Regions from separate parts of the Homo sapiens genome. Here region 2 is linked to region 1. The links are contacts of gene promoters, found by promoter capture Hi-C in blood cells and fetal thymus (Javierre and others, 2016). All regions are on one chromosome and are shown on one strand. Each heading gives the region's core, a stretch centred on a gene start or on the middle of the fragment in contact. The rest is flanking DNA. Distances are from core to core; before and after follow the strand shown. Region 1 holds the start of H3C2 (H3 clustered histone 2). Region 2 holds the start of H4C7 (H4 clustered histone 7).

The links. Contacts are between HindIII fragments. The CHiCAGO score rates a contact against its expected background, and 5 or more counts as called.
Region 2: a contact is called between the fragment with the promoter of H4C7 here and the fragment with the promoter of H3C2 in region 1, in 6 of 17 cell types (erythroblasts, fetal thymus, neutrophils and 3 more). The highest score is 14.3, in erythroblasts.

What each region holds. Positions count from the first base shown.
Region 1 is chr6:26,028,839-26,034,783 of GRCh38, reverse strand. H3C2 (H3 clustered histone 2) reads left to right here and starts at 2,685. Exons shown (of 1, transcript NM_003537.4): 1 at 2,685-3,195. The coding sequence starts at 2,724. The coding sequence ends at 3,134. It overlaps H2AC4 (H2A clustered histone 4), which reads left to right and starts at 1,166. Exons shown (of 1, transcript NM_003513.3): 1 at 1,166-1,692. The coding sequence starts at 1,216. The coding sequence ends at 1,608. RefSeq lists enhancers at 249-308, 639-688, 1,092-1,721, 2,659-2,778, 2,819-3,048 and 2 more and a silencer at 1,209-1,308. The HindIII fragment of the contact is 2,287 bases long and covers 421-2,707 here.
Region 2 is chr6:26,243,275-26,249,219 of GRCh38, reverse strand. H4C7 (H4 clustered histone 7) reads left to right here and starts at 2,224. Exons shown (of 1, transcript NM_003547.3): 1 at 2,224-2,609. The coding sequence starts at 2,243. The coding sequence ends at 2,539. The HindIII fragment of the contact is 5,476 bases long and covers 1-5,081 here.

The DNA.
Region 1 (5,945 bases), core at 1,436-3,935:
CTCATTTCCTGAAAGATTCCAGAGACTCCTCATTCAGTGTTGTGAAAAAGTTCAGGAAATGCAACTCAAAAATGTGCCACTTTGTTACGCTGATTTCTTTGAACTGAGGGCACCTAGGAAACAGTAAATTCAAGGAAGGGCTTTCGCTGAACTCTAATCAAAAATTTGAAAATTAAAAAAAAATTCAAAAAGGAATTTAGTTGTTAAGATTCACTTCCCTGGGGAATCTCATCAACCAGAGAAGATTAACTGTATCACAGGAGAGGAGACTGGTGGTTAACACCATCTAAACAGACTTTGTCACAGCTGTCACCTATTCTTTGAAACACCCATTTATTTTTCTCCAAAATCATATACTCTCCCCTAAGTTGCCTACATCCCCCTTCTTTCTCCCTTATGAATCAAGAGAGCTTATAAGCTTCTACAGTTCACTGGGATTTGGGGTATTCGCTTTTCTTCCCTCCCACTCCCCCTCCCCTTTTTTTGTCTTTGAGACACAGTCTTCTGGCTCTGTCGCCCACGCTGGAGTGTGGTGGCTCTATGTGAACTCACTGCAACCTCCTCCTCTCGGGTTCAAGCGATCCTCCCACCTCAGCTTCTCGAGTAACTGGAACTACAGGCGTGCACTACCAAGCCCGGCTTTTTTTTTTCTTTTTCTCCCCCGTTTCTTTTTTGGTTATTTTACTGGAGACAGGGTTTCTCCATGTTGTCCACGCTGGTCTCGAACGCCTGACCCGCCGTCCTCGGCCTCCCAAAGTGCTGGTATTACGGGCATGAGCCACTGCGCCCGATTTGAAGGACCTCTTAAATATCTATTTAGAAATTGGTCGGAGTCCACTCCTTTCCAAAAACATGAGTCACAATCCGGGAAAAGCACGAGCGGCTGAAAGTCAAAATAACCAGAACAAAACCTCCACTCATGCTTAAAAAAGGTATTTTGACAAAATCCTAATTCGGCCAATTATTATTAGTATTCAAGTCGAAGGCTCGTCAAGCCAGACTGGGGATTGGGTCAAACATAAACCTTACACCAGACGGAAGGATTACATGCAAATGAAGGATGCAGATTCTGATTTCCCATTGGGTATTTGACATTAGCCAATGGGAGAATTCCTCACAGCCTACCTCCAGTCAGTATAAATACTTCTCTGCCTTGCGTTCTAATGTAGTTTCATTACATTTTCTTGTGGCGATTTTCCCTTATCAGAAGTAGTTATGTCTGGTCGCGGCAAACAAGGCGGTAAAGCTCGCGCCAAGGCTAAGACTCGGTCTTCTCGTGCAGGTTTGCAGTTTCCTGTGGGCCGAGTGCACCGCCTGCTCCGCAAAGGCAACTACTCCGAGCGCGTCGGGGCTGGCGCGCCGGTGTATCTCGCGGCGGTGCTTGAGTACCTGACCGCCGAGATCCTGGAGCTGGCGGGCAATGCGGCCCGCGACAACAAGAAGACCCGCATCATCCCGCGCCACCTGCAATTGGCCATCCGCAATGACGAGGAGCTTAATAAACTCTTGGGGCGTGTGACCATCGCGCAGGGTGGCGTTTTGCCTAATATTCAGGCGGTGCTGCTGCCTAAGAAAACTGAGAGCCATCATAAGGCCAAGGGAAAGTGAAGAGTTAACGCTTCATGCACTGCTGTTTTTCTGTCAGCAGACAAAATCAGCCTAACAGCAAAGGCTCTTTTCAGAGCCACCTACGACTTCCATTAAATGAGCTGTTGTGCTTTGGATTATGCCGCCCATAAAGATGTTTTTGAGGTGTTTTTAATGGCTTTGAGTGTGGCACTTTTAGTAATTTGTCCTGCAGAAATTAGATCCATAGAAACCTCAGGAATTCTAGGTATGTGGGAGAAGTGCCATGCAGCACAAAACATGTTTACAGGGGTGATTCGCGTTAAGTTTCACACACAGCAGTTACTACATTTTAGAGGAAGGAAATTATACCCATGAGTGCATTCCTAACTATCTTGAATGGAAGTGTTAAAACCCGCATGCCCCACACAAGTTTGAATATGTCATACCATTTGCTGTAGCAATTAATGGCATACACAATTGAGAGCACACACATTACCACTGAACATTTGAGTATGTATTTCCCAAAATGAGCTTTTTTCCAGTTTGGGGATGTTTTGCTTTGTTTTGGGGTGGAGTCTCCCTCTCGCCCAAGCTGCAGTGCAGCGGCGTGATAACAGCTCACTGTAACCTCGAACTCGGGCTCAAGCGATCCTCTTGACAGCCTTCTGAGTAGCTGGGATTACAGGCGAGAGCCGCCACGCCCGGCTAAGAGCATTTTTCTAATTGCCCACACTTCTTATGCGACACCCAGAAAAATACAATTTTAAATAAAGCGCATATGCAAATTTCCCTAATCGTCTCCAATATTCTCTGATTTCTTTTTTATATTTTAACTAGAAACAATTGGAGGTTTCCGCGTTGCTTTGTGTGGTTGTAAATTTTAAGACTTCAGGAAACTTTTCCAGTACAAGACTTGTCCACAGTGGATATAGCAGCTAAGGGGTTAACAAAATGACGTCAGAGTAGCTACGGTAATGGGCAGGAGCCTCTCTTAATCTGCAACCAGGCACAGAGATGGACCAATCCAAGAAGGGCGCGGGGATTTTTGAATTTTCTTGGGTCCAATAGTTGGTGGTCTGACTCTATAAAAGAAGAGTAGCTCTTTCCTTTCCTCCACAGACGTCTCTGCAGGCAAGCTTTTCTGTGGTTTTGCCATGGCTCGTACTAAACAGACAGCTCGGAAATCCACCGGCGGTAAAGCGCCACGCAAGCAGCTGGCTACCAAGGCTGCTCGCAAGAGCGCGCCGGCTACCGGCGGCGTGAAAAAGCCTCACCGTTACCGCCCGGGCACTGTGGCTCTGCGCGAGATCCGCCGCTACCAAAAGTCGACCGAGTTGCTGATTCGGAAGCTGCCGTTCCAGCGCCTGGTGCGAGAAATCGCCCAAGACTTCAAGACCGATCTTCGCTTCCAGAGCTCTGCGGTGATGGCGCTGCAGGAGGCTTGTGAGGCCTACTTGGTAGGGCTCTTTGAGGACACAAACCTTTGCGCCATCCATGCTAAGCGAGTGACTATTATGCCCAAAGACATCCAGCTCGCTCGCCGCATTCGCGGAGAAAGAGCGTAAATGTAAAGTCACTTTTTCATCAGTCTTAAAACCCAAAGGCTCTTTTCAGAGCCACCCACTTATTCCAACGAAAGTAGCTGTGATAATTTTTTGTTGTCTTAACAGAACAAATTTCTAAGGACCCCCCCGGAAAGCATTAGACTATGGTCTTAAAGTTGATTAACAGAAATAACGGTTTGGTCAGTCTTGCAGTGTAGGTTATTTCTGACCTTATTAAGGTGCTATTTGGAGAGAAGCTGTGTAAGTCCACTATCATTCAGGCCTCTAGCTTGCTATGATTAGCATTTGTTTAAACAACTTTGTAAGAGTAAGGGAAAAATCTGGTAAGTAGTTAACTGGCGCTTACTAGGCATTTTTGCAAAGCTTTGAAAAGATTAGAAAATTGTGTCTTGCGAGTTCCAGTGTCTTCCTCAAAATGCTTAGGAAGATTTTCTCAGCTCAATACATAGTCCCCTAGGTTTTCTCATATATTATATATATATATATATATATATATACTGTTAAATTCATTTGGCTGTTAACATTAACCTGAAATTTATTCTGGTGCAAAATGTGAGGCAGGGATCTAACTGGCTCTCATTTTATCCATAGCTAGCTACCCACTTTAAATCTGTCAGTCTGTCGACCAAGCATAATTTAATCCCTTATATATGAATTTTTATATGTGTGGCTTTGCTTGTAAATAGTCTATCTGGTTGCATTGCTTTGTCTCCTCTAGGACTATGCACCATGACATGCCACATTCTTTTTTTCAGTACTTCTTGCCTGTAGTTATTAAAATCTAGAATTTACAAGTTTTAACCATTTTCTTTCTGTTGATCTTGCTTTTCGGTTTTGGAGGTTGGGGATTGAGTACTGGAAGAAAATTTAGAGGGATGGGAATACTGTACGCAAACAAAAGTAATATTTACTTTAAAATTTTTATATTTTGTATTTTTTTATCATATAGCTTTTACATCACATTTTACAGACTAACTTTAGAACAACCACAGAATGTCCAACATTAAAACTACTAATTCCAAAGACCTTGCCTCACATTCTTTTTTACAATAAATATTTTTTACACCTAACATTCTTTCTTGGCCTACATCTAGAATGTAAACTGATGTACCATACTAAAATCGCCTGACCAACTGTCAACAACAACAAATCACACACACAAAAGATTAAATTTGAATTGCATCGTTTACTTAAATTCATTTGTGTTCCAGCTTTTAATAAGGCAGTTTTTGGTTTATAAAGTAATATTTGCATTTTAAAAATTATGAAAATGAATATGTCAGTTTGTTTTATGATTCGTTTTTCTTGACTCTTATACAAGCGACTCTAACTGGCATAGACATTTGTTATCCACAGACAGTATAGATATGTTAGAGATGCCAATGGACTTGGTCTATGCCAAGGTGACTACTCACAAGCTCTGGGCCCAGCTGAAGGTCAAGTATTTTTTTTCCAGTTATAGATGTGCTGGATCTGATGTATAGCGCTTGACTTTTTATATTTTCTTTATCTGTAGGAAACAAATGTGTTGGAGGTACTGGGTCTGACGAATAGCATAAAAGAATAAAGTTACATTACTGTCTGAGGATCAGATGGACAGGGGGTGGTAGCTCAGTCCAGCTATTTTCCACTCCCTCACTTACATTCTTTGCCCCCTCCTCAACAGAACAAGGATTCTGCTGTAACTCTTCATTGACAGTTGATATTTAAAAATTAACGAATGGATGAAATTCTCATTTGTGAAAGAAAATTTATTGAGCATTTTGTATTTGTGAGTAGTGCAAACATTTTAATATTATATTAAGAATCTATTGTTTTGTATTAGAGGAGTAATTAAGGAGAGATTGGAGACAAAAAGGGGGTGTTGTTTGCAGAATATACCATCCAAAAATAGACCACTGTGGGATCAGGATTCTTTTGAGCTAAAGGCACTTCAAAAACAGCATTCAAGAAGGGAATTCTTCTAAACTTTTCTTTCTGAAAACAGGAGATAAAAGTTCCAATGTGAAAAATGCTCTGCTTGTACCAGGTGAAAAGACATATTCTTCAGCCCAGAGGCATAGATGAGATAATTCTGCACAAACACAGCAGGGAGTCATAGCCGAGAGACTTCTATACACAAACAAACCTTGTTAAAATAATCATATATTCCTTTAATCTCCTCATATGGTTTACTTTCCCACAATTGCCTCTCTTTAACTTAATGTGAAAGCATTTAGCTTTTGCCATTTCTTTGGGGCTTCACTTTTTTATGAGGGTTCTCCTGTCCCATAAAATTTACATTAAATACATTTGTATGCTTTCATTCTGCTAATCTGTTTTATGGCAAATGAATTATCAGGTCCAGCTGGAGACCCTAACAGAGTAGAGGTAAAATTTTGCCTCCCTACAAGATAGAGATTGTGTGCATTAAATGTTGTTTGTTCCCAGTTGTTCAGTTTGTCAGGCCTCTGAGCCGAAGCTAAGCCATCATATCCCCTGTGAACTGCACGTATGCCTCTAGATGGCCTGAAGTAACTGAAGAAACACAAAAGAAGTGAAAATGCCCTGTTCCTGCCTTAACTGATGACATTACCTTGTGAAATTCCTTCTCCTGGCTCATCCTGACTCAAAAGCTCCCCCACTGAGCACCTTGTGACCCCCACCCCTGCCAGCCAGAGAACAACCCCCTTTGACTGTAATTTTCCACTATCTACCCAAATCTTATAAAACGGACCCACCCCATCTCCCTTCGCTGACTCTTTTCGGACTCAGCCCGCCTGCACCCAGGTAGAATAAACAGCCTTGTTGCTCACACAAACCCTGTTTGAT
Region 2 (5,945 bases), core at 975-3,474, 210 kb before region 1:
TAGAGACGGGGGTTTCACCATGTTGGCTATGATTGGTCTGGAACTCCTGACCTCAGGTGATGTGACTCCTTGGCCTCCCAAAGTGCTAGGATTACAGGCGTAATCCACCGTGCCCAGCGCAATTTCTTGTTATTCTAGTAATTTAATCAGCCTGGCCAACATGGAGAAACCCTGTCTACTATAAATACAAAAAATTAGCCGGACGTGGTAGCAGGCAACTGTAATCCCAGCGACTAGGGAGGCTGAGGCAGAAGAATCACTTGAACCTGGGAGGTGGAGGTTGCAGTGAGCCGGGATCGTGCCACTGCACTCCAGCCTGGGCTACAGAGTGAGACCCCGCCTCAAAAAAAAAAAAAAAAAAAAAAAAAAAAAATCTAATTATTTCAAAATAATGTAGAAATAGGCTGTGATGGGATTGCTGCTTTTATTGCTTGGAATTCCATGGTTTATCAAGTTTGTTTGTTTGTTTTCCCCACAAATAGTTGTTTGCACTCTTGGCTTTTTGTTGTGGTGACCTGCTCATTAGGCCATAATTCATTTATGCAGTTACATGATTTTTTAGATATTGCTGACCCTGCTTCAAAAACCCATGATCTTTAGGACTGTTTGTTTGGTGCATCGTAACTGCACAATAAAAAATCCATTGTTATTTTGAACATTCTATTTTAGAGACATCATTTATTTCCACTTAAATGCTCTCGTTTAACTAGCTCAGCAAGTATTTTGTAATGTAAAAATTTAGTGGTGCTTATGTCTTTATTTTGGCTTGTGAGCAAATTCCCCTTTTCTCCTATTAACATTTATGACAGCTTTCCCTGAGTTTCCTGTTGTATCAACCCCAGAAGACAGTCACCCCCTGTACCTTCTGTCCTCCACATGAGAACAGGGCATGGAGCCTCTGGCAATTTACATTATCTTTTTTCTGGGCAATTCTTCATTGCTTAATTGTATAGTGCTTAATATAAGTGAAAGCACACTGAATGTATTGGTGTTGCAAAGGCAATGTTTTAAAATCCTTCGGTGTGCTTTACCTCTGCATTATTATTTTGTCTGTAAAAAAAGGCTGTGGCAATAAGAATTCGTTTACCAACTGGCCGGTGAGGTGGCTCACGCCTGTAATCCCAGCACTTTGGGAGGCCAAGGCGGGCGGATCACCTGAGGGCAGGAGTTGGAGACCAGCCTGGCCAACGTGAAATCTGGTCTCTACTAAAATACAAAAATGAGCCGGGAGTGGTGGCACATACCTGTAATTCCAGCTACTTGGGAGGCCGAGGTAGGAGAATAGCTTGAACCCAGAAGGTGGAGGTTGCAGTGGGCAGAGATTGCGCCATTGCACTCCAGCCTGGGCAACAAGAGCGAAACTCCGTATTTTAAAAAAAAATCATTTACTAACTATATGCCAGTGTTTTGCTTAAAGTAACTCAATTATTAACAAGTATTTACCCTTTTTACAGATAGGGCCATTGAAACTCAGATTAACATGTCTAATATCGGTGAGAGAGCAGTCACTCACAGATTCGAAACCAAAAACCAGGCTACTTCTCTTTAGCTGGGCGGCTTGGCAATATGATTAGGAATTCTTTTATGTCTTGGAATTTGGGCTTGTTTCAACTTCAGCATGGTAAATGCTCTAATATACAGGGAAGGAGTAAATCTTTTTTTTTTCTTTTTTGAGACGGGCTTCGCCCTTGCCCAGGCTAGAGTGCAGTGACGTGATCTCGGCTCACTGCAGGCTCCACCCCACGGGGTTCATGCCATTCTTCTGCCTCAGCCTCCTGCATAGCTGGGACTACAGGCGCCCGCCACCTCGCCCTGCTAATTTTTTGTATTTTTATTAGAGACAGGGTTTCACCGTGTTAGCCAGGATGGTCTCGATCTCCTGAGCTCGTGATCCGCCCGCCTCGGCCTCCAAAAGTGCTGGGATTACAGGCGTGAGCCACCGCGCCCGGCCAGGAGTAAATCTTTAAACACATACAGACATCAAAAATCGAGATACTTTCCTCTAGGTACATGTTTGACACTTTCGTTTAGAGATCCTTATTCTCTAAATGCCAGCAAATCTCCCTACTACAAGAGAATTTCTTATGTCTTGTTATTACTAGAAGTAGATGAGCGGGGACTGAATACGTTTTCCCGCCTTTCCTGGTCTTTCAGTTTTCAAAAAGGTCTACTCTACCGTTATATAAAAGGCTGCGGAAAGCGAGTAATCGTTTTGTTTAGAGATAGTTCTGACTTGTTTATCATGTCTGTTCGGGGCAAGGCCGGAAAAGGCCTTGGGAAAGGCGGTGCCAAGTGCCATCGCAAGGTACTGAGCGATAATATTCAGGGCATTACCAAGTGCACTATCCGGCGCTTGGCCCGGCATGGCGGTGTCAAGCGCATCTTGGGCCTCATTTATGAGGAGACCCGCCGGGTGTTCAAGGTGTTCCTGGAAAATGTGATCTGGTACGCCGTGACCAACACGGAGCACGCCAAGCGCAAGACGGTCACCGCCATGGCCGTGGTCTACGTGCTCAAACGCCAGGGAAGAACCCTGTAAGGCTTTGGCGGTTAAGTGAGGCCAGGCCTTTCCTTGCAATATCGTTAATGGCCCTTTTCAGGGCCGCGTACGTTTTCTTCCGAAGGGCTCACGTTTGACATTGTGGAAACTTAACTAACGCACTCAGCAATATTGTGTGTTTTATTGCTGTAGGTGCCCAAAAGCTGTTAGGTGTATAATGCTGTAAAGTATAAATTTACGCCAAGGCTGACATACAACATGGAATACAGGTGGTAAGTTAATCGTGTGTTCAGAGATTAGAAATCTGGTGGGCTGGCTGAGGACATCAACGGCTACATTGTCACTTAAAAGCTCTCAAAATGTGGTTATGGTAGTGTGTTTTTCTCCTTACTGTTAGGATTACCCTCCGTAATTAAAATTGTAGTTTTAGTGCCAAGATAACCCGACTTTTATATTCTGCTTAATAAGCAATTTCAATAACCAGAGAATACACAATAATTAGCACAAACTTGCCAGGTGCCGTTCTGACAAATGTGTCTGCAGTGGAGGGACTGGCCCCCTTGCTAGTTCAATGATCTAATTTAGCAGCACTAAAAGAAGTTTACCTGTTTCGTGCCTTTGCTTGTGATCCATCGTAAATATAGAAACACCTTGATAAGGTGTAACTGCAATAATTCGTGTCTCAATTTACTGTTTATGAAAGTACAGGGGTCAAAGAGCCAATTAAACATCTCAAGAGGGGGAAAAAACCTTCCAGAATGTGGAACATTTGGGACAATTGCTTTGTTCAAAAAGCCACCGAGAAAAACTGGAGGACTTTAAGTTTGAAGGAGATTAAAGTAACATAGCAACTAAATGTATTAATTGCATTCTGTCTCTAAAGTTTTAAAGGGCATTTTGGAGATAATCAAGGAAACTTGAACGTGAACTGGATAACAGGTCATTTTAGTAAGTTTTTAAAGAAAGGTTTGATATATTGAGATTACATGGAATTTCCCTTATTGTTAGGGGTTAGATGCTGAAGTGTGTAGGTGTAAATTCTCATGAGTCTGTCATTTACTTTCGGATGGTGGTAAAATCCACTCTATTGAATGTAGGTAGTGGATGACTGATAAACCCATCTTTTGTTATGTTTTATTCTGAATATTTTTATAATAAAAATTTGGGAAAAATTAACATAATAAACTGTTACAAACTCTGGTGCCATCACGGGAGAGGTCTCTGAACAGGTAAGTGTAAAAGACCTGTCTGCAGAGAGAGGATGCAAGTAGCAGGACACTGAGCCGCATGACACTTGTCATATGCAGGCACATTTATTCCTCTTGCTCTCACTCATCATGATCAGCTGTTAGCCAGAGGGGAGGGACATGGGAACAGGGCAGTTCAGGTACTGTTGGGAGAGGGTAGGTCTCCACTAGTGTGAAGACACAAGGGGCAATAAGTAGTTTGATGCCATGGAGACTGGGAATACATATATGACCAAAGATGCATGCCTGGCAGTTGCCTGATTGAGGAGGGCCTCCTCTTGCAAATTGAGAAACTGAGAATTAACCTTATGCTGTTGGAAGCATGTTAATGAGGTGTGACATGGAGAAACTTGCATTTAAGTTACATCAATTCTTTTGGATATTATGGCCATAAACTTTGTGCTGTGTAGTGAAAATATTGGGTTCTGCTAAGGTCAAGACAGGAAACAAGTAGCTTACTCACATGGGATAATTGGAGGAGGGTTTCTTAAAGAAATTATTTGCAAATTAAGGGCAGGATACAGAAAACTAAAAAAGTAGTGCCTCCATCCAGGTCTAGTAAGGATCACTTATAACCCTGAAGGGGCATGGGAAGCAATTGCTATAGCTGCAGAGAGAGGGATCCCTGGTCTGGAGAGATGCTGCTAACAGCCAATGAAAGGGAAACTGGGGAATAAATACCCCATCTCATTTTCCTCCTTTCCTCCAGTCTCCTGCATGGGGTTTCCACTGGCTGAATCCTTCCAGAAGGTGGAGGTCTGGGTAGCATATTGGTCAGAACCATACAGTTAGTCTCCCAAAGCCCAGGGCTTGGAGGAGAAAGTGGAAATAAGTCTAGAGGTCCTACTGGAAGACACTTTATGAGGAAATGACACCACTTCCATGTTTCATAAAATAAACGTCGTGAACAGTTCTGTGTTTCTATTATATGTTTTTTTTTTTTTTTTTTTTTTGGCCAATCCTTTGCCTTGCCACTGGAAACAGCTTGTAGAGACGGTGTCAAAGTTAAATTTTTCTGTAAACCACACAGGATCTACAGACTCTTATATAAGAAAAACTTTATATACTTAATTCCACAGAATTAAATATTTACTTTCTCAATCTATGAGTTTTTAACTTACAATGGTGTATGTTTGATTTGTATTATTTCACTTTCATAGGGGTAAATGAAACGACACAATAATCATTGTTTAACAACAACAAACACATGAAGCAGAACACAACAAAACTTTTTAAAAATAGATTTTAATGCAAGAGTCAATCTAGAATTTAAAAACCCTTTCTAGGATACACATTTTCTCATTGTTATTTATTTTTTCTGTCAAAGCCAAGCTTTTTACCTTTCAGGGTTTCTCCACTCTATTCTGTCAAACAACATTCCAGCAATTGCCATAATTTTCTATGGCCCTGTAAAGTATGACATAGTGTTTAAACAGTGAATTGTAGCCAAAATGACTGGCTTAAATATCACTGCTCTTGTGTGAAGTCACACATAGATTGGGAGCCACGCCAAGGATGTTCTGGGCCAGAGGACATGCAAGTGGAAAATCTCAAGGTGAGAAAAGCTTTATGTGTTTCAGGAAACAAAGGGCAACTAGTGTGGCCCCTTCCTCTGTTTACAAAAGGCATCACACTCCATTACCCTTATCACTTCTCTGACTCTGACTCTCCTCGCTTCTACTTATAAGGATCCTTGTGATTACAATGGCACCACTCAGGTAATCCAGAATCATCCAATCTCAAAAGCCTTAATTTAATAACATTGGAAAGTTACTTTTACCATTTAAGGAAACATATTCGCAGCTTTTGGGATTAAGATGCGGGCATCTGGGGGGGAGGCATTATTGCTACCAGAAGTATAGTAAGGCATAAAACCTTTTAATAGTGTTGTAAAACGACTCCGAATTCCTAAAATACACAAAAGTCCATTAGAAAATAGTTAAAACCCTTTTTGTTTGAAACTCTAAATTCTTAGTTGCCAGCTGACTGGTAATCGCACATTAACTGTGATGTTTAAAGGGATATTGAATAGATATTAGCATTCTTGGGAGGGCTGTAGAACCACGCCTGATGACACTCCCAGGGACAAACTCCAAAGCTGTGCTGCAGAACTAGTCAGGTGCTGGTGTGTCACACCTGTTATTTCTGAATCAGAACTTGACTCACCTGTAACCTATGGCTGCTGCTACTACCAAAAG